6 separate regions of the Homo sapiens genome follow, and regions 2, 3, 4, 5 and 6 are each linked to region 1. The links are contacts of gene promoters, found by promoter capture Hi-C in blood cells and fetal thymus (Javierre and others, 2016). All regions are on one chromosome and are shown on one strand. The core of a region is centred on a gene start or on the middle of the fragment in contact, and the rest is flanking DNA. Distances in the headings are between cores, read along the strand shown.

What was found. The method cuts DNA at HindIII sites, captures the fragments that hold promoters and counts their contacts. A CHiCAGO score of 5 or more calls a contact.
Region 2: a contact is called between a fragment that was not itself captured here and the fragment with the promoter of FRRS1 in region 1, in 1 of 17 cell types (non-activated CD4 T cells). The highest score is 6.3, in non-activated CD4 T cells.
Region 3: a fragment that was not itself captured here is called in contact with the fragment with the promoter of FRRS1 in region 1 in 5 of 17 cell types (non-activated CD4 T cells, activated CD4 T cells, total CD4 T cells and 2 more); the score reaches 9.2 in non-activated CD4 T cells.
Region 4: a fragment that was not itself captured here is called in contact with the fragment with the promoter of FRRS1 in region 1 in 6 of 17 cell types (megakaryocytes, M2 macrophages, M1 macrophages and 3 more); the score reaches 7.2 in megakaryocytes.
Region 5: a contact is called between a fragment that was not itself captured here and the fragment with the promoter of FRRS1 in region 1, in 1 of 17 cell types (erythroblasts). The highest score is 5.2, in erythroblasts.
Region 6: a contact is called between a fragment that was not itself captured here and the fragment with the promoter of FRRS1 in region 1, in 14 of 17 cell types (total CD8 T cells, total CD4 T cells, non-activated CD4 T cells and 11 more). The highest score is 12.3, in total CD8 T cells.

The regions. Positions count from the first base shown.
Region 1 is chr1:99,765,146-99,769,915 of GRCh38, forward strand. It overlaps FRRS1 (ferric chelate reductase 1), which reads right to left and starts at 1,490. Exons shown (of 17, transcript NM_001361041.2): 1 at 1,462-1,490. The HindIII fragment of the contact is 6,315 bases long and covers 1,237-4,770 here.
Region 2 is chr1:101,436,741-101,441,501 of GRCh38, forward strand. No RefSeq gene overlaps it. Among named protein-coding and RNA genes, the nearest start is that of LINC01307, 120 kb to the left of the region's middle. The HindIII fragment of the contact is 935 bases long and covers 2,769-3,703 here.
Region 3 is chr1:100,846,098-100,850,420 of GRCh38, forward strand. No RefSeq gene overlaps it. Among named protein-coding and RNA genes, the nearest start is that of EXTL2, 47 kb to the right of the region's middle. The HindIII fragment of the contact is 954 bases long and covers 2,359-3,312 here.
Region 4 is chr1:100,887,427-100,892,060 of GRCh38, forward strand. It overlaps EXTL2 (exostosin like glycosyltransferase 2), which reads right to left. Exons shown (of 5, transcript NM_001033025.3): 2 at 1,327-1,402. The coding sequence starts at 1,331. Among named protein-coding and RNA genes, the nearest start is that of EXTL2, 5.1 kb to the right of the region's middle. RefSeq lists a silencer at 2,534-2,734. The HindIII fragment of the contact is 9,761 bases long and covers 1-4,634 here.
Region 5 is chr1:101,282,414-101,286,735 of GRCh38, forward strand. No RefSeq gene overlaps it. Among named protein-coding and RNA genes, the nearest start is that of LINC01307, 39 kb to the right of the region's middle. The HindIII fragment of the contact is 2,118 bases long and covers 852-2,969 here.
Region 6 is chr1:100,869,067-100,873,383 of GRCh38, forward strand. EXTL2 (exostosin like glycosyltransferase 2) reads right to left here. Exons shown (of 5, transcript NM_001033025.3): 5 at 3,325-4,317. Among named protein-coding and RNA genes, the nearest start is that of EXTL2, 24 kb to the right of the region's middle. The HindIII fragment of the contact is 690 bases long and covers 1,191-1,880 here.

The DNA.
Region 1 (4,770 bases), core at 240-2,739:
ATCAACATACTGGCTAACTAAATGACGAACTAAAACTCACTTCTCCAACCTAACAAAACCATCTCTTAAAAGGTCTTTGTTTTCAATAAGCTGATAGATCAAATTAAGCCCCCAACTTCAGTTCTATCCCAGTATAATACTCAAATCTTACCACTTTTTTAAAAATACAGAAGTGGCTGGGCGCGGTGGCTCACGCCTGTAATCCCAGCACTTTGGGAGGCCGAGGCAGGCAGATGACCTGACGCTGGGAGTTCGAAACCAGACTGACCAACATGGAGAAACCCCGTTTCTACTAAAAATACAAAATTAGCCGGGTGTGGTGGTGCCTGCCTGTAATCCCAGCTACTCAGGAGGCTGAGGCAGGAGAATTGCTTGAACCCGGGAGGCAGAGGTTGCAGTGAGCCGAAATCCCGCCGTTGCACTCCAGCCTGGGCCACAAGAGCAACACTCCGTCTCGAAAATAATAAATAAATAGGCCAGACGCGGTGGCTCAAGCCTGTAATCCCAGCACTTTGGGAGGCGGAGGCGGGCATATCACGAGGTCAGGAGATAGAGACCATCCTTGCCAACACAGTGAAACCCCGTCTCTACTAAAAATACAAAAAATTAGCCGGGCGTGGTGGCGGGCGCCTGTAATCCCAGCAGTATACTCAGGAGGCTGAAGCAGAAGAATCGCTTGAACCCGGGAGGCGGAGCTTGCAGTGAGCCGAGATCGCGCCACTGCACTCCAGCCTGGCGGACAGAGCGAGACTCCGTCTCAAAAATAAATGAATAAATAAATAAATAAAAATAAAAAATAAAAATACAGAAGCAAATGAAAATATCTGAACTGAAAAGTTTAGCTATGTTAAGAAATATTCCTAATAACACATTTACAATTTGAAAAATCCCCTTTACCCTTTAGGGCAGTATGACAAGCACACACAAAAATAAGTGCAGTGATAACACCTTGCCACCCTGGAGTCTTTCTGAAATTTTAACGACACACCAGGGCTAGGGAGTGGGAGGGTAAGGGGACTAAAAGTTCTAGATAAAAAGCCACTTTAAAAACCAAATAAGGTTCTAAGTGACCCTGATATAGGTAACCATGCCACTAGCTTTAAATATAAAAAAAGAGTTCCTACAGTTTTAAATTTAAAATTAAAAACAAAAAAAAAACTCCTGCAAGAATAAAGTCAATGATTTTCAGGATCCCAAACACGTCTCTACTTATAACCACCCATATCTTGGAATTAAAGCTTGTTAGTCAAAGTCACAGGACATATTAACCTAACTCGTTAGTGAACACTCATTAGCTCAATTCAAGCTCCAGAACATAGTTTCGGAATACAGCACCCGTTCTGCCTGGCCGACTGCCCTGGTCAGCACAGGCACTCGCTCTCCAGTCTGTCGCTAAGCTGGATTTGATTTTTAACGCTTTACAAAGAGCTTTGACATTAAGGAAAAAGACGTGACACTTACCTTGAGAAGCGAAGGCAGCCTAACCAACTTCCGGTTTTGTTACAACTTGTATCACATTTCAGCAGCTGGGTGGAGCCAGTTAAGCCTTGAGCCAAAAGGGAACCTTTCCCAAACTAAGCTGCAGAACTTGATTTGCAAGACCAGTGCTAGTTTTAGGACTCCATTTCTGAAAACTTAGAATTCTGTTTTACACTAAGGAACAGTGTTTGCCAACTAGTACCTACTTCGCCACAAAAATTATAGTTTTTGTGTTTAATTGCAAAACTATTTGAAAATACCTGTTCTATAATAGTGCTAAGTAAAAGCAAATTAACTTTTAAAAAGTGGAAAAAGATCAGATTGCATAGAACCGAAACCTTTCTGCAGTGTGAATGATATAATGCAAAAGAAATCTTTTATTTTGCAAATTACCCCTGAAATTTAGGAGTTTTGTTTCTTTTTAAGCCTTTAATCTGTTTCACAAGACTCTTTTGCAAAAGAAAAATTTTAGGGCTAGGAAAAGACAATGTAATTGAATTTTTAACAATCTTTGTTTTTATTTTGTTTTTTGTTTTCCTGTTTTTTACTTTTTTTCTTCTCTTTAATGTAATTGAAAATATTAAACATTCCATTTCAGACCTTGAGTGACATTGTAATTGCCCAGTGGGTTCACCTTGCCCGCTGTCTAGACAGAGCCGATTTATCAAGACAGGGGAATCGCAATGGAGAAAGAGTAATTCACGCAGAGCTGGCTGTGCAGGAGACCGGAGTTTTTTGTTTTGTTTGTTTGTTTGTTTTGTTTTGTTTTGTTTTGAGACGGAGTCTCTGTCTGTGGCCCAGGCTGGAGTGCGGTGGCATGATCTCGGCTCACTGCAGCCTCCCCGTCCTAGGTTCAAGCGATTCTCCTGCCTCAGCCTCCCCAGTAGCTGGGACTACAGGCGCCCGCCACCACGCCCGGCTAATTTTTGTATTTTAGCAGAGACAGGGTTTCACCATGTTGGCCAGGCTAGTTTGGAACTCCTGACCTCAAGTGATTCCACCTGCCTCAGCCTCCCAAAGTGCTGAGATTACAGGCATAAGCCACCGCGCCCAGCCCGGAGTTCTATTATTACTCAACACAGTCTCCCCAGGATTCGGAGATCAGAATTTTTAAAGATAATTTGGCGGGTAGGGGCTTGGGAAGTGGGAGTGCTAATTGGTCAGATTGGAGATGGAATCATGGGGGGTCGACGTGAGGTTTTCTTGCTGTCTTCTGTTCCTGGGTGGGATGGCAGAACTGGGTGAGCCCAATTACCGGTCTGTGTGGCATCAGCTGATCCACCGAGTCCAGGCTCTGCAAAATATCTCAAGCACTGATCTTAGGTTTTACAATAGTGATGTTATCCCCAGGAGCAATTTGGGGAGGTTCAGACTCTTGGAGCCAGAGGCTGCATGACCCCTAAACCATAATTTCTAATCTTGTAGCTAATTTGTTGGTCCTGCAAAGGCAGACTGGTCCCCAGGCAAGAAGGGGGTCTATTCAGGAAAGGGCTACTACCAATTTTGTTTCAGAGTCAAAACATGAACTGGATTCCTTCCCAAAGTTAGTTTGGCATATGCCCAGGAATGAACAAGGACAGCTTAAAGATTAGAAGCAAGACAGAGCCAGTTAGGTCTGTTCTCATTCACTGCCATAATTTCCTCAGTTATAAAAGGCTTTGCAAAAAGCCTTTTTGCAAAGGCGCTTTCAACATATGCAGACTGGAAAATAGATTATGACCCATGCCTTGACCTGTGAATGCTGGTTATCAATCAACCCCAGTAAATTCTTTAAACCATTTTTAAAGAGAGAACAGAGAAAGGAACACCATCACGTTACGCTTTCTCTTAAAGAACTAGTCACAATTAACAAAAGCCCCTCTCTACAGGTTATTAAAGAGAGGCTTTAAATAAAGATGACCCAGAGTTGGTTTGCTATCCTAAAGCTGCTGGGAACATGAATAGTTTTAAACTAAGTCAGCTGATCTTCAGTTCTTCAAAGCCTCAAGTGGTGAAATAGCCTTCTGCAGATAACAGACCCTTTCCAGGAACTGTCCCCATTGCATGCCAAAAGTATGATATGTCTATAAAACAAAAACTCTTCGACTATATTATCAGAACCCTACATTCTAAAGCACTCTTAGGAAGTGGTACGACACAGTGGGAAGAACTGAATGGAGAGAGAGGCTAGCTTTGTCTAAAACAACCCTTTCACTAGGCTCAGTGGCTCACATCTGTAATCCCAACACTTTGGGAGGCCGAGGGGGGTGGATCACGATATCAGGAGTTCAAGACCAGCCTGGCCAAGATGATGAAACCCTGTCTCTACTAAAAACACAAAAATTCGCCAGATGTGGTGGCACACGCCTGTAATCCCAGCTACTCAGGAGGCTGAGGCAGGAGAATGCTTGAACCTGGGTGGCAGAGGTTGCAGTGAGCAGAGATCACACCACTGCACTCCAACCTGGCCAATAGAGCAAGACTCCATCTCAATAAATAATAAATAAATAAAACACCACCCCTTCTGAGACTATCATTTCTCTCCATGTCCCCAGCTATAATTCCACCTTATCATTCCCTTCCAGATCACCTCTACCAGACTCTTCATCAACTCATCAGTTGTCACAAAGGAGACCAATTTTATTAAAATTAGTTTAATGGAGCTTAGATCCTAAGAAGTTAAAGCTACCCTACTGGTTACCATTCTCATGCCTCTATATCAGCAGTTCTCAAACTTTTTTTATTTCAAGGTCCCTTCACAACTTTGAAAGATTATTATGTACATCAGAGATGCTTCTTTATGTGGGTGATATCTATTAATATTTTTGTATTAAAAATTAACAGAAAAAGTTAAATATTCATAAATTTGTTTTTAAGTGACAATAATAGTTACATGTTAACACAGTATCTTTTCTGTTGCTTATATTATTGTTTTTCAACAATAAAAAATTTAATGAAAAAGTATAGCATTTGACTAGTCTAAAAAAAAGAAAAAGTATCATTGTTTAAATTGTTGCAAATCTCTTTAATGTCTGGCTTAATAGAAGACAGTAGGATTCTCATATCTGCTTGCATTCAATCTTTTGTGATATCATGTAACACCTCATGTAGCCACTGGAAAACTCCACTGTATATTCATGAGAAAATGAGAATGAAGAAGGCAAATAAAGTATAGCAAGAACAATAATTATCATTTATTGAACACTCATTTTAACCAAGGCACATGTATTATCCTATCCATTATGAACATCCTTCAGCTGAGAATGTTAAGGACCTGTGTGGCTAAGTAAATTGCTGAAGATTAGACAGAGA
Region 2 (4,761 bases), core at 1,986-4,485, 1.7 Mb after region 1:
TTTTTCCAAATGTACTGATAAGGAAAGACAATAATTTTGTGATGGAGCTGTTATTTTTAAAATTTTGACTGGAGATGACAAGAAATTCTCATCAGATGCTATGAACACTGCTCTTGGATACTTCCCTTCTTCTAGATACTTATTTTCTGATTATCTCTTTGCTTTGCTTTTTTTTTTTTTTTAGAAAATGGGTTATTTATCTTTTTATTATTGGGGTTGTAAGAATTTGTTTTTTTTCTGAGACAGGGGCTTGCTCTGCTGCCCAGGTTCAGTGCGGTAGCATGATCATAGCTCACTGCAGCCTCGAACTCCTGGGTTCAAGCAATCCTCCCACCTCAGCCTCACCAAGAAGCTGGTGCCCAAGCATGCACCACCACACCTGGCTAATTTTTGTATTTTTTTCTAGAGACAGGGTCTTGCTATGTTGTCCAGGTTGGTGTTGAACTCCTGGGCTCAAGAAATCCTCCCACCTTTGGCTTCCAAACTGCTGGGATTACAGGTGAGAGCCACTGCACCCAGCCTTTGCTCTGCTTTTTTGGTGACATAGGTTTGGTTTAGATGATTGCTTCTAGGAAAACTGTGTTAGCAACTCTGCAGTGTGTAGAGGTTCCTAAAGATGGAGAGGAGGCACAGGATTCTAGTTCTTGTCTTTCCAGCTAGCAGCGAACTGGGGTTTAGAACCAAATAAAATCAGAATTCCCACGGTGTGAGGAGAGGTACTCAGGATAAAACTGGCTTCAGACTCTGGGCAAGGCAGGGACTGGTCTATGTCAGCTGGAGGCATCTTTCCCAGACACTGGAGAGTGCATGTGTGGAGTTTCCACACTAGGCACAGTGTCTAGCTACCAGGAACAGAGGCTGGCACTGTTCTGCACCTATACCAGAAACTCAACAGAGGAGGCTTACTTTTATTCATATTGTTTTACTAACCATCCCCCACCCCATAGGAGGAAGGGGAAAAAATAACTTGTGAATAAAGTGGAAGAAAATTAAGATATAAAAAAGATTTGCTTGCCTTTTTTGTTTTTAAGGGTTTGTGAAGAGGCAAAAAAGGCTGAATCCCATTCTGTTCTTCAGGAATTATTCCTGAAGTATTTTGTTCTTTGTCTTAGATCAAGTCTGAAGATGTGAGATGTACTGCTACACATTGTTGTTATCTATTCTGTAGTGGAAATACACATTCCAGAACTGGATGTGGCATGGTGTAATTTTCCTGTCTAATTAGCCCTAGCACTCTTAAGTTAAAGGCTCACACTGCATGTCCGTTGGCATGACATCAGTCCACCACTGACTCTGACTGTCAGCAGGAATCTAAATATTTGGGCCAATGCATTTTGTCTAGAGCTTATATTTGTAGTTCAAAGAGAACTTCTTTGTAATGAAAAAAAAAGCATTTTTGTTATTATGTTTCCTCTTCTTTGGAATTAGCAACTATCCCAATTAAGCCTCTCTAACTTCTCCTACTTCCCCAATAGGCATACCTCTTGAACTGCTTTAGTTACCAACAAAAATGGGAATGATAGGTCTTTGTAATTAGCTTTTTAGAGATAGAAAAATCACAGCTATTAACCCCAGACTGTGTCTAATGTGGAGTCTCAACTTAATAAATTAGCTAGAAGTATGCTGCCTTTCTCTGTAGTGAAGCCTTATGGCAGCCCTGGCTTATGGCTGCTGGTTACTGATGAACCAAAAAGATTGTTGTGAGGCTATTTCTATTGTCCTACGCTCATCATCTTAGGTGTGGAAGAGTCATTAAAAAATTAAAGTTATCAAAGAATTATTAAAGATCACTGTTTCGTCCCTTCCCTGCCCCAGTGCTGGTACTCTCTTTACAACATCTCCCCCACGTGGTAGCCTTGATCCTGATAGAACTCACCTCATGAGCCTGAGGCAAAAATAGTCTCCAGCTTCCAGCAGACAGTTACAATTTGGAGTTATCCATCAAAATAGTCTACTTAAAACTGTAGAGAGCTATAGCTTAGAAGGAGACATAAATGTATAAATAGATAAATTGATATAAAATGTTGTGAGTGCTTTGATATAGGCACAAATAACTTGTTAAGAAACAACTAACTGCCTGGGAAAGTCTTGGAAAGATACCCTGAGGAGACATTGGAATCTGTCTTGAAGAATAAGTAGAAGTGAGTGTGTGTATGGGTGGGGGTGAGGGGGACTGGGAGTGAGTAAGAATATTTCCACAGAAAGAATAGCCGGTACAAAGATATGAAATCTGGAAAAGGCTGCGTTAAGCCAGGGCAAGAAGTTGAGAATGGCTGGATGGAAGGGCTTATGAAGTGGATTCTCTTTTCAGAAAGAGATGGCTTGAGCCTGGCTATTTGGGGGTTTGCTTGTTCAACCAAGAAGTTTAGATTTTATCTTACAGAAAAAGAGAAGACATCAAGAGGTTTGAAGCATGGGAGTGACTTGATTTGATTTCCAGTTTAGAAAGATAACACTAGTGGCAGTTTTGAATACTTATTTGATGGAGAAGGGAGTGAATCAGGGATACAGGCTGGGTGTAAAGCACTCTGCCCTCCCAGCAGCCCAGGTGGCCTGTTTTTGGTTCAGAAAATAAAGTTACTGTTTATAGAGACAGACTTAACTGGTTGTGATAGATCATTGCAAAATGTTATGCCTGATGTATGAATATTTGCAAAGTAAAATGGAAAATTGTGGCAATTGCTTGGATTATGCAGGGAAACAAAAATTGACTTGAAATACTAACATAAGGAATTTTAAGATGGAAAAAGCATAGATCAACGAGCAAAAGCTTTCTTTTTTTTTCCCCCATGAAATGATCAACTGTAATTTGGCTGGACGTAGTCTTAAGCATATACTCTTATAATCTCATGATTTCAATAGTATGTTTTTCTGTGACATCCTTATGGATCACAAAGTCACAATGGCATAGTATAAAATGGAATCACATTAAAAAATTATATTCTAGGCTGGACGTGGTGGCTCACACCTGTAATCCCAGCAATTTGGGAGGTCGAGGTGGGTGGATCACTTGAGGTCAGGAGTTTAAGACCAGTCTGGCCAACATAGTGAAACCCCATCTCTACTAAAAATACAAAAACATTAGCTGGGTGTGGTGGCATCCGCCTGTAATCTCGGCTACTCAGGAGGCTGAGGCAGGAGAATTGCTTGAACCCTAGAGGTGGAGGTTGCAGTGAGCAGAGATCCCACTGCTGCATTCCAGCCTGGGTGACAGAGCAAGACCCTGTCTGAAAAAAAACCAAAAAGTATTCTTAAAAAAGAAGGCAAAATAAGATTAGTAGAGGAACCAGTGCACATTTGCATATACTTAAAAACTTGTGTACTTTTTAGCTGGCTTGTCGGGATTACAACTCTCAAGCTAGCATAGCTGATGAGCTTTTGATCCCTTTCCTCCTATGGGGTGGGGGATGGTTAGTAAAACAATATGAATAAAAGGAAATGCAGTGGTGCTCAGAAGGAGAAGAGTTTGAGCCGTCTAATTGTTCCCCACATTCCATTTTGCCTTATAGACTTTGCATCGTCTGCCCTTTTTGGCTTGCTGGCTATTCAGTTCCCATTTTCTGCATGTCACAAACAAATGCTCCCAGGATAAAGTCAGAAACAGAACTTGAGTCTATTTCAAAAAAAGATGAGGGAGGAATATGCCTGGATTAAAGCCATGAAACAAATCCCCAAATATCCTTGCTAATTTAACATGAAAATAAGCTTTTAATAGTTTATCTTTATTCATGTTACATGTTTATTTAGTAGCATCTCAGTATTGAGAAAAGTAGATTTTGCAGCCAACTGACAGAAGAGTTTGGTCTGGATACTGGTTGTCCTCCCTGCAGGGATGGTTGGCTCTTGCGCTTGGAATGTCCCGGGGCTTCCCAGTATAGAAATGTGTGCTGGTCAGAACTGATCTCTGGCATGATTGTCAATGGCATCCATGAATTGGCCCACACCAGCACATTTTCCTGCGACTTCTCAGCTTCTGGTCTGTAGCTGCTTTCCGTCATTTTGTATTTGCTGCATACTCCATCAACCTAATAAAGCAGCTGTTTATTATGCGTGACCTGCTCTATAGTGTGACTGATGGATAACTGCAGCATTTAAAGTCTTGTGTTAGATTCTCAGCCTGCTGCCAGCTCTCCATTATATTCCATAAAAATGTTTCTTGTTATGGACTATCAGAAGCAAAAGTAAGTTATTTTAGGGTCAGAGCCAATTTGAACCCTCTAAAGTACTGCCAGATTAGAAGGTGGGAGAAAATAAGAAGCAGTCTGGAAGAAGCTGCAATTAAGGGCATCAAACATATGCACAAAGCATACCTTTTTCATAGTCCTGCATATACAGACACAGAGTATTTTATGTGGAGCATGTGATCCAATATGAGCTGGTATAGTCATATCTGTGAGGTTGGAAGGCTGGTTAAAAGAAAGGCAAGGACAGACAACTCTATTTATTATTTATTATTCACTCTGGTCCAGTGCTTTGCTGTGTTCTACTGCACATTATATGTCATTGATTTTCTAATAATCCCAAGGAGTTTTTTTTTTCTCCCATTTTATTGGTAACGTCTGAGGAAACAAGCTCTGAAAAATTGTGTCAATTTCTTGGCTTCTCACAGATAGTACAGGGTGTGCGGGATGAAAGCCCAGGTTGGTTTGGTGACAATGCCTGAGTCGTTTCCACTACCCTCTCCATGCTCTCAGTTAAATGACTTCTCAGGGTGAAAGCTCCTTAAGCCAGTCCTGGGGATTCACATAGAGGACTTGACTG
Region 3 (4,323 bases), core at 1,586-4,085, 1.1 Mb after region 1:
ACTTTCTCGGCCATTTTAAATTACATGGGCTATCTCCCTTGTTCCATGCCCTGTCCACTTGCTCTTTTTAAAAACATTCCTATTTTAATATAAAAATACTTCATGATGTAATATTTTATATGTGCAAAAGAAATTATATAACTTGTGCTAGCTTAAAAAGTAAAATAATAAAATAAACACCTGTTAATCCATTACCCAACCTCAGAAATTTACTATCACCAATATCGTTGAAGCTACCTGTTTGTTCCTCCCTGATCCTATTACCCTCTTTCTCCCAGGCGTTAACCACTATCTTGAGGCTTATGTTTACTTTTAGTCTTTCTATGGTTTCACCACAAAATCAGCAATGTATTTTTTTGGTTTTGAAATTCATAAAAACGGCATATCACACAACATGAAGGGCCATCAGCATATCCTCACTAGAATGTCAGCTACATAAGAGCAAAGGCTTTTGTCTATTTTGTTCACTGATATATCCCAAGTAACTATAAAAGGATCTGGCACATGGTAGGCACTCAATAAATATTTGTTAACTAAATTAATAAAAATATAAGCCTTCCAAATAGTTTTGTCCATTTCCTCATATCTGAAGCTTGACAGTTAGGCTTAGTTGCTTAACTGATTGAACACCATGATTGTCAGATACCATTTTTGGTGGTTTACTACCTTACCTAATACAGCTATTTCACTTGTGGCCTTAGTTAATGCTCTATGCATGAACTAAGCTCTTGTAAATATATCCATTTTGATAATGTAAGTTTTCTTTCTGCTTTTCTCCACTGTCTGATTATAATTAGCTGGAACAAGAAATGCTTCTTTAATATAATGAATTTTGCCTCAGTCATAGAAACTGTAAGATAGGACAAAAGAATAGATTTCCTTCTTTCTGCTGCTGAATCACAGATTCTCCTATGTAAGGAATACTTACTTAACCCAACATCTCAGGGATTCATAGATCTGACCAAACATTAGAGTTCTTTGTTGTCTTGTAATATGTATGCTGTTTTGCTGTATATCACTATCAGCATATTTTATACATTTTTAATGTAATTTACAATGCACAATTCCTTAAGTCAAATGTCCTGCACTGAGAACTCCTTCAGGGATTAGTTTTTTTTTTTTTTTCAAATGTGCATTTCTTAGGTTTACTATTTCCTTAGTATATATATTTAGAGTGTGTGTGTATATATATATATATATATATATATGTATATTTTTCTTCCTATTGCTGTTATGGAATCTTTGCTGGAGGTCCTGTGTGATAAAACCTCCAATATGTGGAATGTTATTAACATTTGCTAAAGACCTTTGGATGCAATGCAGAGTTTCTTTTCATGAGAGAATTGTGCAGTGGAAGAGAGAAGACTGCTTTGTGATTATAGCAGTTCTTTAACTGAATTAAGACAGGCAATCATTGGTGTTTCTACTGTGTTGCCAGGGACTTCTATTTATTATCAAGGCATTCTTTTATATTCTGCTTTGTAAAACTGGAAATTCCCTGAGAAATCACCAGGAAAGCTGAATGCCATATAAAGAAAAGAAAACCGAAACCAAGGAGGACAATATGTGGGAAAAAAAGAAGCTAAGACGTTAGAACTGTGCTATTTCCTAAAGATTAACATGTGTTTGAAAGATATAACAATGTTAGTTTTTGGACATAAACATACATATTGTTTGTACTAAGTGTTGCTTTTTCCTAGTCTGTAATCAATGAACAAGCATCTCTTGAATATGTAGTATTTACTTAGCACAGTTTGAGACACTGTGGGATATTCTAAAGAATAATCTGTAGAGCCCTTGCCTTTCAATAGCCTACAATAGAGTAGGAGGAATACAATGGCACATTTAAGCCATAAGACAAGGCAAGATGATACTTAATTACCATAAGTACTAAATTATGAGGTACAGACTATTAGTACTGTAAAATGTACTGGGTTCCCAGAATACTCTCCTTCCTATCTGAGTGGTAGTTACATGGGTATTCTTTTCACAACCTGTTTTAAAACTGTGCACATGTTTTATTTACCTGTTTTAAAATCATAATTCACAATAAAAATGTTAAGTGATAGAAAGAGAAGGAGAAGAATAAGGCCTGGAATAACTGGAATAAAAACTTGTGGGGAAAATATAACTTAAGAATTGGCACAGAAGAGAGAGCAGATCAATACAAATGCAAATGTAGCACAGCTGTGGATGAGTTGGGGTGCAGATGGGTTGCAAGGAAAGAGGGTACCAACTGGAGTGGGCTTGGAGTTTGGGGTGGGTTGTATGGGGTGGTGCAGTAGCTAACATGAGCCTGGACAATTTGAGAGTTAAGGGTTTTGGGGTTGAAGGAGGACCTTGAGATGGAAGTAGAGAAGCTTAGACTGATGTACCAGGTCATCCATATGTTTGGGATTTTAAATTAGGTGAAAGATTGATGACAATGGAATTCAAGAAAAAAATAATGTAGCTGTGCTATGTCTTCTTCACGAAAACAGGATAGGAGCAGGAGTGAGAAAGGGAAGCAGCAAATGAATCATGTAGCAATGAGAGCCTCCTCATCATTACTGGAGAGGAAGAAGTAAATGTAAGAAACACTACAGGTGAGAAATGCTCACGACTATGTAGCTGAGAGGATGTGGGGATGAGCAGGATAAATGAACCACGTATTTTTTGCTCTTGGGAGAATAATAGTGCCAGTGATAGAGTAGTTGGTAGAAACAGTTGGTTAAGAGGAGGAGGTAATTCTGGTCTTTCAAATGTAGAATTTGGAGTGATAATGACAGTAGGGAGTAGCTATATGGGCATAGAACAAGGGCACATAGAGAAATTTTGATGAGCATTTTCAAATGTAAAATACCACAACCAGAAATGAATCCCCATATTGTGTTATATGACAGATATCATAAAGCACCTAAACGATGCTGCTCTCACATCAAAGGCTAAAAATCAAGGTAATTCTCCCTCCTTGAATGTGGTAGCCAAACCCACATATTCCTCTCCCTTTCCATTTCTGACAGTTCCATAAATACCTAAATTCAAAGCAAAGCCTATTTATTTTATCAGGGAGAAAGCAGATGTTCCAGCTGTTGGTGATTTCTGTGCAAGATGAGCCATCCTTACTACATTTTAAATCTTTTTGAACTTGTGTCTTTTTAGCAAACTTGGAGAATTATACTATAGAAATGGAAATCTATAAAACTCCAAAGGGCAGACAGAATTAAGGAGGCAGATTTTGATTCAATAAAGAAAGAACTTTCTAAAAATGTGAATGATCCATAAATGGAAAAAACCTAAGTATATTCCCTCTTCTGGAAATATTTTAGCAAAAGCTTGACTCTGTAGAGATTCTATATATAGGATTCTTACTTTGAGTCAGTGATTGGACTAAAAGACTTCCATGACACTTTATATATTTATTTTCTCCCTCTCATGTATTGAGGCTCAGTGAGGAAAATTTTGAATAATACCAATAAATTTGCTCATTTATTCATCCAAGCAGGTTTGTTTTTCCTATGAGCCAGGAACTGGGCTAGGCATTGGGGATGAAACAGTGAAAGAGACTCTGATCCTTGTCCTCAGTAATCTTGTAGTCTAATAAGGGATACAGTGACCAAAGTGTTAAATGCTAACATCGAAGTAAATACCTGGAACTCAAAGTGAGCATAGCTCACTCTTAAAGAGTCAAAGAAGACCTATCTGAAACATCAACTATTGCACCAAACTGGACTGTTGAAGACAGAAGAGGCTTAAGTCCTTTCTATCAGTCTACTTGCCCAATATTCACTATCTACACACAAAAATTCTATGAGCAAAGCCCATTTTCAGAAAACACAGCCTTATAGAAGGACTTTCAATATGACAGAATGAACTACAGTTTCAGAAATGTAGTTTGGCTTTCTAGAAAACATAAATCCATTTGAGTCTAAAATATTTTAAAACCTAAATAAAATCCTTATCCCCATGAGATGATATGGACAAGTATTAATTGCTTTCTCCTATATTACCTTGACCCTGAACCTCCCCTATCCAGGCAACTAAACTGAATTGTTCCAATGGCCCAAGCAGAGATGTGAGGAAGAAGGGAAGGAGAGGGAATTACAGCACAATCAGAAAATAAATATAACACATTCTTGGCTTTTCAGTTTAAAATGCCCACCTATGTGATAGAAAGATTAAATCAAATACTTGCTGGAGCATTTTCCTCTCTCAGAAGAAAATAACTTAAACCTTTATCTGGACTAAGAGAAGAAAAGGGATATAGTGGAGATGGGAAACAAGATTGTTAAGACATTGACAAAACTCTCTTAGAAAAGATCACCAGACCCTACTTCCCCATAC
Region 4 (4,634 bases), core at 1,785-4,284, 1.1 Mb after region 1:
ATGGTAGTGAGCAAGAAGAACCAATTTCTGCCCTCACAGAGCTGAGCATTACTAATGAAAGTTGTCAGAGCTCTCCCTGCTTCATGTTATAGATTACCTCAAACTGACAATGTTTCAAATCTTTAGAAAGAAAGGAAATAAAGTGTATCCATCCCATTTTGCAGAGAAGACATTTGAGATTGAGAATACAGTATTAAAAGATTTTTCCTGAGCCACAGAAAGAGTGGCAAGTCTAAATCAAACTCTCGACTCTCTCACTTGAGCTACATTGTATTTTCTTTTTTTCTTTTTTTTTTGAGACAGAGTCTCACTCTGTCGCCCAGGCTGGAGATAAGTGGCGCGATCCGGCTCACTGCAAGCTCCGCCTCCCCGGGTCATTCTCCTGCCTCAGCCTCCCGAGTAGCTGGGACTACAGGCGTCCGCCATCACACCCGGCAAATTTTTTTGTATTTTTAGTAGAGACGGGGTTTCACCGTATTAGCCAGGATGGTCTCGATCTCCTGACCTTGTGATCCGCCCGCTTTGGCCTCCCAAGTGTTGGAATTACAGGCGTGAGCCACCGCGCCCTGCCCGCCACATTGTATTTTCTATGTCTTCTGAATAGTCTCTATATCCAGCTTTGTTCTGGTCTACAAGAATATTCAACTCTATACATACTGACTTCATTCTGTAACCTGGAATACTATTTCAATGGACCTAAGAGAGGTCTCTCAGTATTTTCTAAGATTTTGGCTTAAGTAAGAACTAGTGTTTCCAAGGAAATAAAACCAACTCTATAGGAGATAATTTTTCCCAGACAAAAGTACTGGTACTTCACCCATGTTCATTGTGGCCTTATTTACAAGAGTCAAAAGGCAGAAGCAACCTAAAGGTCAATTGACAGATGAATGGATAATACATTTAGAAAATATGATACACAGGTACAAAAGAGTATTATTATTCTGTTTTTACAAATTAGGGAATTCTGATACATGCCACAACATAGATGAATCTTGAAGACATTATGTTAATTGAAATAAGCAGTCACAAAAAGACAAATACTGTATGATTCCATTTATTATGAGGTACCTAGGAAAGTCAAATTTATAGAAACAGAAAGAATGGCAGTTGCCAGGGGCTGGGAGTAGGAAGAAATGGACAGTTGTTGTTCAGTGGGTATAAAGTTTCAGTTTTGCAAGATGAAAAAGTTCCAGAGATCGGCCGCACAACAATGTGAAAACAGTTAACACTACTGAACTATATACTTAAAACCCGTTAAGGTGATAAATTTTGTGTTATACGTATTTTACAACAGTTAAACAAAAGCCAAAAAATATTGGTACTTACCTCATTGTGTTGAAGTTTAATTTTTAAAAAATCTCCTTATAGCTTCAGTAATTGACAGAAGCAGGCTCACTTGTCACTATTAAGATAAATCAAAGAATTTTCTGTGATGTTTCTGTCAGTCAGCAGGAAATTTAAAAACAAAACAAAAAATGGTGCTTTCAATGCCATTGTCCATAAGCCTTGAGTTACTTTAGAAATTAAAATTTGTTATTCTGTCTTCTAAAAATTATATTTAGGCAATGAGGTAGATGATTAATGACTTCCAGTGAGGTTGGTGCTATATTTTGGTTTTCATCTTTCTATTGAGGGTTGTATTAGTCTGTTTTCACACTGCTATAAAGAAATACCCCAGACTGGGTAATTTATAAAGGAAAGAGGTTTAATTGACTCATAGTTCCACATGGCTAGGGAGGCCTCTTATGACCATCACGGAAGATGAAGCAGGCACCTTCTTTACAAGGGGGCAGGAGAGAGTGAGTAAGCACAGGAAAAACTGCCACTTTTATAACCATCAGATCTTGTGAGAACTCACTCACTATCACAAGAACAGCATGGGAGAAACTGTCCCCATGATCTAATCACCTCCCACTGGGTCCATCCCACAACAAGTGGGGATTATGGGGATTACAATTCAAAATGAGATTTGGGTGGGGACACAGCCAAACCATATCATTCTACCCCGGCCCCTCCTAAATTTCATTTCAAAACACAATCATGCCTTCCCAACAGTCCCCCAAAGTCTTAACTCATTCCAGCATTAACCCAAAAGCCCAAGTCCAAAGTCTCTTCCAAGGCAAGGCAAGTCCCTTCTGCTTAGGAGCCTGTAAAATCAAAAGCAAGTTAGTTCCTTCAAAGATATAGTGGGGATATAGGCATTGGAAAAATGCTCCCATTCCAAATGGGAGAAATAGGCCAAAAAAAAGGGGCCACAGGCCCCATGCAAGTCCGAAATCCAGTGGGGCGGTCATTAAATCTTAAGGTTCTTAAATAATCTCCTTTGACTCTGTGTCTCACATCTAGAACATGTTGATGCAAGAGGTGGGCTCTCAGAGTCTTGGGAAGCTGTACTCCTGTGGCTTTTCAGGGTACAGTCCCCCTCCTGGCTGCTTTCATAGGCTGGCGTTTGAGTGTCTGTGGCTTTTCCAGGCGCACAGTACAAGCTGTCTGTGGATTTACCATTCTGGGGTCTGGAAGATGGTGGCCCTGTTCTTACAGCTCCACTAGGCAATGCTCCAGTGGCAACTTTGTGTGGGGACTCCAACCCCACTTCTCCCTTCCACACTGCCCTAGCAGAGGTTCTCCATGAGGGCTCCACCCCTGCAGCAAACTTCTGCCTGGACATCCAGGCATTTCCATACATCCTCTGAAATGTAGACAGAGGTTCCTAAACCTTAATTCTTGACTTCTGTGCACCCATAGGCTCAACACCATGTATAAGCTGCCAAGGCTTGGGGCTTGCATCCTCTGAAACAATGTCCTGAGCTGTATGTTGGCCCCTTTTAGCCATGGCTGAGATGCAGGGCACCAAGTCCCAAGGCTGCACAGAGTAGGAGTAGGGTCCTGGGCCCAGCCCATGAAACCATTTTTCCCTCCTACACCTCTGGGCCTGTGATGGGAGAAGCTGCTGTGAAGGTCTCTGACATGCCCTGGAGATATTTTCCCCTTTGTCTTGGTGATTAACATTAGGCTCCTTGTTACTTATGCAAATTCCTGCAGCTGGTTTGAATTCCACCCCAGAAAATGGGTTTTTCTTTTCTACCATATAGTCAGGCTGCAAATTTTCCTGACTTTTATGCTCTGCTTCCCTTTTAAACACAAGTTCCAAATTCAGATCATCTCTCTCAGGTTCAAAGTTCCACAGATCTCTAGGGCAGGAGCAAAATGCCACCAGCCTCTTTGCTAAAGTATAGCAAGAGTGACCTTTGCTGCAGTTCCCAATAAGTTCCTCATCTCCATCTGAGACCACATCAGCCTGGACTTCATTGTCCATATCACTATCAGCATTTTGGTCAAAACCATTCAACAAGTCTCTAGGAAGTTCCAAACTTTCCTACATCTTCCTGTCTTCTGAGCTCTCCAAACTTTTCCATCCTCTACCCATTACCCAGTTCCAAAGTCTCTTCCATATTTTTGGATATTTTTATACCAATGCCCTACTCTCTGCAGTACCAATTTACTTCACCAGGTAAAAAACTATGACCTGCTGAGGTGCTTGCTGAAAGCAAAGGGAATACAGAATGGGTAGTAGAAGAAGGTAGTGATCAATACCAGCTATGACCACATAAGCAGTTGCAGAAATTAGGACTGTAATTGTCATGAGTTTTCCTCCTTATTTTGTTAAGAATATGTTTATGCATGTATACACTTGTACTAAGAATAAAGAATATATCTATATTTCCCCTCTTTTTCCTGTATCCTGTGACATTTATTGACATCATATCAGCATTTAAGTGTTGTTAACTTTATGTAATGGCATTTAGGTTAAGGATTAGTATGCTTCTGGTTGTATAAAGGATAGCTGTATTGTTAGGCATAATTATGACCGTATTATTGTTTTTATGTAAGCATGCAATGGGTTCACCTTGCCTGCTACCTAGACCGAACGAATTTATCAAGACAGGGGAATTGCAAAAAAGAAAGAGTAATCTATGCAGAGCTGGTTGTGCGGGAGACCAGAGTTTTAGTGTTACTCAAATCAGCCTCCTGGAAAACTCAGGGATCAGAGTTTTTAAGGATAATCTGTTGGGTAAGGGGCCAGTGAGTTGGGAGTGCTGATTGGTTGGCTTGTGGATGAAATCTTAGGGAGTCAAAACTGTCCTTTTATGCTGACTCAGCTCCAGGGTGGGGGCCACAGAACTGGTTGGCAGGTCCAGGTGGGGCCATCCAGTTATCAGAAATGCAAAAACCTGAAAAGACATCTCAAAAGGCCAATCTTAGTTTCACAATAGTGATGTTATCTTCAAGAGTAACTGGAAAAGTTGCAAATCTTATGACCTCTGGAATAATGGCTGGTAATATTTAGAATTCCAGCCCCTCTCATCCTAACTTGGTGCCTGGTGGCCTTTCAATCATTTTACAACAACAGTTTAGCTTTTGGGAAGGGCTATTATTTAAACTATAAACTAAATTCCTTCCCAAGGCTAGTTTGGCTTACATTCAGGAATGGACGTTTAGAGGTTAGAAGCAAGACGGAGTTGGTTAGGTCTGATATCTTTCACTGTCATAATTTCCTCAGTTATAATTTTTGCAAAGGCAGTTTCATTTATTTGGAGATTAGGTATGATTTCAAGAAATGTGTATGGGTTCAA
Region 5 (4,322 bases), core at 661-3,160, 1.5 Mb after region 1:
TGTAGTATGACTGACTTATTTTCCCCCCTAAAGCAAGACTTTTTATGATGAAGCAATAAGTGCCTGCCTTGACTTTACATTCTGGCACAAGTTCTTTATCTCATAACAGATCAGGAAAAACAGTTGGAGGACAGACATTGGTCCAGAAGTTGGCATTTGCCCAAGGACAACACTTTTGAGTAACGCTGCTGAAGTTAACATCCCCTCTCCTTCTTACCCCTTGCTGTCATCAACTGTGGATAATTGTACCAGCCTCTCAGATGGTCTCTCTGCTTCCAGTATTTCTCCTCTAATGTATTCTCCGCTCTGTTGCCAGAGAAATCTTTCTTAAATGCAAACTTGTTTGTGACACTTGTGTACTTAAAACCCTTCAATGGCCCCCACTTTCTCCTAGATAAAGTCCAAACTCCTTCACAGGGGGCCTGGCTTTGCTGATCCTCGCCAGCTTTATTTCCTTCTAGGTTCCAGTTTTGCTGAGTCCCGAGTAGTTGCATACGTGAGCCACGTTCTCACATCACGACTTTGTATGTGCTGTTCTGCAGTCCCTGTTGCTCTCTGGCCCTCTTCTCTCCCTCCTCGCCCCGTCTCACACACAGGCATTCTCTTGGCCTGGCTAATCTCTACTGATCCTTTAAACAAGAACTTCCAAGGGATATGAGAATAGAGGTGGGATTTGTAAGATTTTATTGTTTCAGATTTAGAAGTTGGATAGGTGGAGAGGAGCAGGGAAGACCATGCAGTAGGGATTAGGGAGCAGAATTATGGAGATCATTTAGAAGGCTGTTGCCAGACCTGTGGTGAAAATTGCCTGGGAGTGAGGCAAGGAAAATAAGGGATGTGGTGTGGAGAAAAGCTTCCCCCTAAAGCAGTATTGGTGGCCCCTGGCAATCAATCACAGGTGGAGTGATTGATTCTGAGCAAAGAGGTAATGCAACATGGTAAACAGAGACAGTTCCTACAGACAGACTTTTCTGGGGTGCTTTGGCAGTGGCCAAAGGCCTTGGAAGACTTGGAAGAAGGACTTCCCACTTTGGCTGCTGAAGTACTCCTGTCTCTGAAGGGCTTGAAAGCACTACTATTAAGCAAGGAATGGCTACTGCTAGCCTGGGAAAATGGTGGTGGGCTTGGCAAGTTGCAGGAGGCAATTAAATTGTATCCATCCCCTCCTCCCACACGCTCTGAGTTTGGAGGCTGTGGACCGCAAGGATGTCAGCTCTAAAAACATTTGACAGCCCTGGGGAGAGTCTCTGGTTCTTCCTTATCCATGACAGGCAAGGCAGACCACAGGTCACAGTTTCTCCCTGGCCTCTGTTAGCCTCTGATAAGCAAAACCTTCGGTGGGGAGAAATTGTTCTACTTTTTTACTTACTCAGATATAGTGAAATGTGTGCTTTTTCCCACTTCTGGGAAGCTAAGATTTATTAGAATCTGCAGATTGCTTCCTTCAAGTAAACATTATATAAAAGGGTCCTAGTTTCCTAGTGGGAGTTTAGTTTGTAGGCTAGTTCTACAAAGAGATAAATAGGGGTTTGTCCATTGTGTGCTCTCCAAATGCTCTATAAAGATTAACTCATTAATCCTCAGCCTCCTTGTGAGGATTGTTATCCTTCTTTTTCAGCCGTGGAATTGGGACGAAGTGCTGCACGGAGGGGCCTTGCCCAAGGCTACGCAGCTGGTAGACGGGGAAATGAGGCGGTTGCCGGCCGCCTCGCAGGCAGCTTTCCCTGTGAGGAAGGAGGTGCCTCGGGCCTCTGAAGAGGTAGCTGGGATAGCCTGAAATGAGCTGCTGAAAGCCCACGCTTCAGAAAGACAAAAAGCAAGCAAAACACACTGATGTGGTTGACACTCGCTGAGGATGTGCGATAACACAGACAGTGCCCGGGTTGAAGTGGGCCTTCCAGAGTTCCGTGGCAGCCGTGAAAGGAAAGTTAAATGAATAATGGCAATAACATTGTAAAGGAATGCTTCAGTACCTGAAATGTAAAGTGCATGAATGCTTACCAAAATTTGTCGTATTGTTATACTATTGCCTTATGTTTGTACGGTGCTTTCCAGTTCTGAAAGTGCTTTCACATGTTAAATGATTTGCTCACAATAGTTTTTCAAAGCAAATAGGTAGATATGGGTGGAATGACGTCTCCCCCTTCCCAAATTCATGTGTTGAAACTCTAAGCCCCAGTACTTCAGAATGTGACTGTATTGGGACACAGGGCCTTTAAAGACTTGAACAAGCTAAAATAAGGCCCTTAGCGTGGCCCTAATTCAATCTGACCAGTCCTTAGCAGAAGAGGAAATGAGAACACACAGATAGACAGCAGAGGTGCCAACATAACAGAGGAAAGGCCACGTGAAGACACAGCAAGGAGGTGGCCGTCTCCAAGCCAAGGAGAGAGGAGAAACCAAACCCGCTGACACCTTGATCTTGGACTTCCAGCTTCCAGAGCTGCAAGAAATAAATTTCTGTTGTTTAAACCACTCAATCTGTCATCTTTTGTTATGGCAGCCCTAGCAAACTAATATAGTAGACCATTTTGGAACACCTTTAAACATGTTAGAAATACTCATTTCTAACTAGAAAATATTAGTCACATAACAATTAGTTACATAACTTCCATACTGTCTCAGTAATAATAATATTAAAGATGACTCACACCTACTGAGCCTTCACCGTGTGCCAGACACCATGTAAATGTCCTACTTCATTTAATCCTCATAAAATGCCTCCAAATAAACAAATAGGGAAGAAGAAATAGCTCTTCCTTACAGTAGAATTTCAGTTGATACATGTAGAAGGAATCAGAAAAATAGAAGATTAATATTTGGCAAATGCCATAGTAGTAATTGCTGTAGGCAAGCCCCATGGATGGATACTATAATTAGTTGGTGAAAGTATGAGAAATAGAATATTTGTATAGTCTCAAAGTATCTCCCTAAAAGATATTTACTAATTACAAAGGGAAAAAATAGTAAGCTTAACAGTGGAGAAACCCAACATACATCACTTTAACCAAGTGGTCAAGAATAACCTCATCAATAATAGGACATACCAAGATCATGTACCTCCAGATATGATGCACTGAGAAGGGCACAATATCCTATTTGTGCCATTCTTGCCAAAAATGCATAACTTCAATCTATTCATGAGAAAACCTGGGGGACATTTTGAAAATAACTGTCCTGGATTTTCCAAAACTATCACTGATTGAAGAAGATGAAGAAGATATAATAGCTAAATGCAATATGAGATCCTGGATTGGATCAAAAAAAAGAAATCTGTGGGAAAACTGGTGAAATTCAAACAAGGTCTGTAGATTTGGTTAATATTGTTGTATCAATGTCTATTTCCTGGTTTTGATAATTGCATTACATTTATGTAAGATACTAATATTTCAATAAACTGGGTGAAGTGTATATAGAAACTACAATTTTTGCAACTTTACTGTAAGTCTAAAGTTATTTCAAAGTAGAATTTCTTAAAAAAACCTTCATGTTCTAATGAGTGTACAGTTTCCGTTATGCAAGATGAATAAGTTTTAGAGATCTGCTGTGCAACATTAATGTATTGTGCACTTATGAATTTGTCAAGAGGGCAGATCTCATGGTAAGTACTCTTACCACAGTAAAAAACAAACAAATAAAAATCCCTTTTAACTAGGTGCTATTAATATTTTCTCAAGTAAGTTGGCTTACTCAGGGTGAGACAACTTGTTAAGGGTGGAGCAAAGCTATGTACTCAGGCTGTCTGACTCTAGAGCTTATCCTGTACCCTATGATATATCCTCTTAGTACTTTTAGGAGACAGTGGAATTGTTAGCTTAGTTTTAATTTTTCATAGACTTGTATTCCTTTAGTCCTATGTTATAAAAAGCTTTTTCTAAATCATCCTGCCTCCCTTTAGTCCATGTGGAGGAGATTCTGGCAGAGTTGTTGAGTCAGAAGAAATACAAGCATGAGTAGGACACTGTACTGGAAACCATTGCCCACACAAAGAAGTAGCCGACTTCTCTGCTCTCCTCAGGAACTTACAAAGAGCTGAGACAGACAAAAGACAACTAACAATACAGAGCAGAAAACAAGCACCAACAAAGTAGTAGAGGCTCTGTGTGCCATGGGATGTTAGAGGAGAGAGGCCTGGTATAAGCTTCCTGATGGAAGGAGGAGGTGACATTTGACCTGAGCCTTCAGGAATGAGAAAGATTGCCAAAAAAAAAAAAAAAAAAAAAACAAGAAAAAGAAAAAGAAAAAAGGAAAACCATGGGGAAGAACATTGTAGATAGATAGAGAAATTGCAGCCATCGGAGGTCTGTTGCCTTGCCACCTGT
Region 6 (4,317 bases), core at 286-2,785, 1.1 Mb after region 1:
TTATGGAATTTTGAAACGGGAAATAAATTTCCTGACCATTTAGTTTGTCATTCTCTTTTGTATATGTGGAAATTGAGACCCAGATAAATTTAATTAACTTAGTCACCTAGCTGATACTAGAAAGAAAGTTCCCTGATTCTCCCATCGCAAGATTCTTTTCTATATAAATTGTCTTCACTAGCTGTATATTATTTATTGTTTAAACCAAAAATATTTGGACACACATACTCACACATAAGTATGCTTACCTGAGAATTTATATTTAGCTTATTTTAACTCAACCATGCCGACTTTCTCTGAGACATTATTAAAACACACAGCATATTATATAATATTTCTCTGTGGTGCTTCAGAAATATATATATTCATTCATATGTTCCCTCCCAGAAAATCAAGCTCCATTCTCTATTTCTTCAATATGTGAAAATAGAAAGAGGTATGTGGATGAGAAAAAGAAAATGAATCAAAAATAAACCTTAACCAGGGAAATTTCTGGCTCTTTGATGAGGTTGAGGGTCATAGCATCATGCATCAGATGTTTTATCAGAAATACAAGCACATTTTCCCTTAATGTTCTGTTCCAATAGGCATTGTTATACAGGATAAAACTTTAAAAATGCAACTTTCATTGTGATAAGTAGTGTGATATGATACAAGACTGATGAAATATTCCATAATATAATGCCAAATATATTTTTTCTCAACTTTAGCACTACTGACATTTTGGGACACTTAGTTCTTTGTGGTGAGGGCCTGTCTTGTGCATTGTGGGATGCTTAGCAGCATCTCTGGCCTCGACTCACTAGACGCCAGTAGCAAGCCCTCCATTGTAACAACCAAAAATGTCTCCAGACATTGCCAGATGTCCCCTCGGGGGCAAAATCAGTCCAGGTTAGGACCTACGGCTATAAAGTAAGACTGATTGCTTCAGATATATATATTTTTAAACTACTGAAAATATTCCAATCAAGAATTTGATTCTTTTTCCTTTTAGATAAAAGAAATATTGACATATGAAAAAGAAAAGAGACTTGAGGCCTCTCTAGATTAAATAAATACTTCATTTACATATTCCTTCTGAGCTAGAGCTAAAGTGGGCCCCTTAAATTGCTTTCAGTACTTGCATACTTACTCTCGCTTCTTTTTATACTCTAAGGTATAATTCTGACACAGTTACTACTTCACAACCAAGCTTTCTTTTTAACTGTTGGCCAAGCTGCTGTTTATCAGTGATGGCTTTTACAATATTCTTTAATTTTCCTGCTATTGCAAAGTTCTCTTTACACGTTATGGCCTGTGAATCTTGGGGCAGGTATTTTCATCCCTATTCTTCAGATGAAATTAAGTCAACCCAGGACTCAGTGCATGTTTCTAGGGTACCAAATGGTCTTTTTTTCATCTATGGTAGCTATATATTTGAGTTGTATATTAAGAAGGCTTTCAAGGAGTGGAGGAAAGAAGAATGAGGGAGGGGAAGAAGGAGGGAAGGGAGAAAGTGAACAAAGTTGAAAGCAACTTAGTGGAACAATAAACGATAAAAGCTGGCATGGGATAGAGGATGATATAATCTCACCATTTAAGTCATTGTGGCAACCTTTGAGATTCAGTACCTTCATACTCATCCTCCATCACAGCAATATCCTCCACTCCCTCTCCCACATTCCACTCCCTGTCCCTCCTACCCCCTCAAGTGCATGTATTCTAGCACACACAGATATCCCTTCCTGGCCTCAGGTTCAAAGCCTTAGGTCTTCCCAGAGGAAACAAATGTGGCCATTTCTGTTGCTTCCAAACGGTTTATTGCTGGTACCAGGAAATTTTCATTGTTTATACTCTAAACCTTGGAGTAAAGTTTTTAGAAGCTGTCAAATGCTTCCTGAAGCTTATATTGCCCTCCAGTTTTTTTGATAGTTGATTGCCTGCCTTTTCAGTCTTCTCAACACAGAGTTCTATGAATGAGCAGCCTTTCAAATCCAGCACTATTTGAGTATTTTATATGTAGAAAAAATATATGAAAGAACCTGTTAAATAATACTCAATTTTGGGAAACTGACAGGAAACAGGTGCTCTCAGATGTGGTATGAATAGGCTAGCCATGTCAACACCTCTGGAAGCATTTAGCAGTATGTAGCAAAACCCTAAAAGCACACACACTACTAGATAGACCCAGGTATTGAACTTTGTTGGACTTGATTTTAAAGAAATAATTATAGATATGCTCAAAGATATCTTTTCAAGGCAAAGATACTTATCCAAATGTTTTTATAATGGTAAAAAAGTATAAAATAAAATGGTAGTATGATTGAGTGCATAAATTATGGTTTATTCATATAATAAAATACCAGATAAATCATGCTAGTAAAATATATGCCTAGAAAAGTCTGCAGGAACACATACAAAAATGCCATTGTTAATTGGGGTAGTGGGCTTTTAATTACTTCTTTATACTTTTCTGAATATGCCAAAATTGCCGGAATGAATATATACTGCTTTAATCATAAGAAAAATAGTATTTGACAGAGCGAGACTCCGTCTCAAAAAAAAAGAAAGGAAAAACAGTATTTGAAATAAATAATGAATAGGAGATGAAACTGCCATGGTTCCTTACCCATAGTTAAATGCAAATAATTTCCTGAATGTCTCACCTGGTGGATGCAGGGGCTTCCTAACACCTAGGTGGTGAGTGGAAGGATTAATTCTGTCCTTATTATCAATAACACTGTCATCCCAACAGCTTTCATTTACTGAACATCTAAAATGGGCAAGGCACTGTGCTGTATTTATGCAAGTTATCTCTTTTATTCCTTAAAACAAACTCCAGGCAGATATTATCCTTATTTTGCAGATAAGGAAACTGAGTAAAGAGAAAATGAGGTCTAGCAAGGATTTGAGCCCAAGTATTCTAATGGCAAAGTGTGCACAATTGACCCGCTACGTTGCATTGCTTCTCTTACAAAGTTTTAAGCCTGAGCATCTCTTCTCCAGATCATTTGAGGCAAGAATAAGAGGCGTTCAGGGAAAGACAGCTTTAATAGGAGTCTATCTACAATGCAAGAGTCTTTGTAATGTAGACTGAACTGCACTTTGGTTTCATATTATTTGCTCTATAATATCTGAAACCATGATATGATTAACTTATGTGATGCTTAAGACAAGTTTAAAGACACAAGATGGGAAATAAAATTTGGGAATATTTTTTCATGGGTAATGTGGCTAATGTCTCTACCTTATTCTCAGCAACATATTAGAGTATCATATCTAGAAATGTGTAAGAACACCAATCACAAAAACATGAGTCTGCTTAGTTAACACAGAACACATGGATGGCAAAAGTTTCTTTTATTTATCTGCTAGAGGAATCATAAGAGGCAAAAAAGTACTACCAATATTGGACAAAACAGATAACTGACATTATCGATTTTTAGTAAGATTCTTAGTTTCTTTGTTTTTGTTTTTTACAATCTGACTGCATTAAGACACATATACTCTTTAATGTAAAAAAAAAACCATCATATGCGGAACTAAATGCACAAAGACCTCATTATTGGAACATTAGCCATGATTATTTTAATATTCTCACAGCTTTGCAATTTTGAGAATATACTAGCATTATATAAGAAGGAAGAGGAGAAGGAGGAATAAGAGGGAAAGGAGGAGAAAGAGAAGTTGGTAAACAGAGGCCTAGTTAAGAATTCCTTGCCTTAGTGGTGAACAAGGACTAAACACAGACAATGGGTGAAACACAGACGCTAATTCACATAACAGAGAGTAGGCAACCTTAAGAATGAATTGATGCAGACTCCTATAGAATTCCTCTGTTATGACTGGGTTCTTATTTTCTCCTCCTTGTATGTAGTTGAAATTTCATCATTATGAATAGTTCCTTGGATCTTTTTTTAAAGTTGTGAATGCAAGTGTTTGGCTTTGTAATACAACTTTTTAGTATCCAGAAGATAACCAGTGCTCTACCAATAAAGATCTTTTGATACAAAGGGTTTTAACTTCTGCCAGTTCTTACTCATTTTTTTCAGGTTTTTTATACATTTCTTAAACAACACATACATTATGTAAAATATAAGAATTAATGTACATTCTCAAGGTCAGATTCAGTGACAAAATGCACTACCCGAATCTAGTAACACATTTACTCCTTGCTGCATATAAGTGGCGTGTAAGAAATACAGGGTATATTGTTTTGTGATCCATGCAGTAAATGTTCACAAATATCAAGCAAACAACTAGACGTTCTTCAGCTACTAAAATTAACTGTCCCAGTCACAAAAGACTTAACAAAAATAAAAGCATGGATGGTTACAT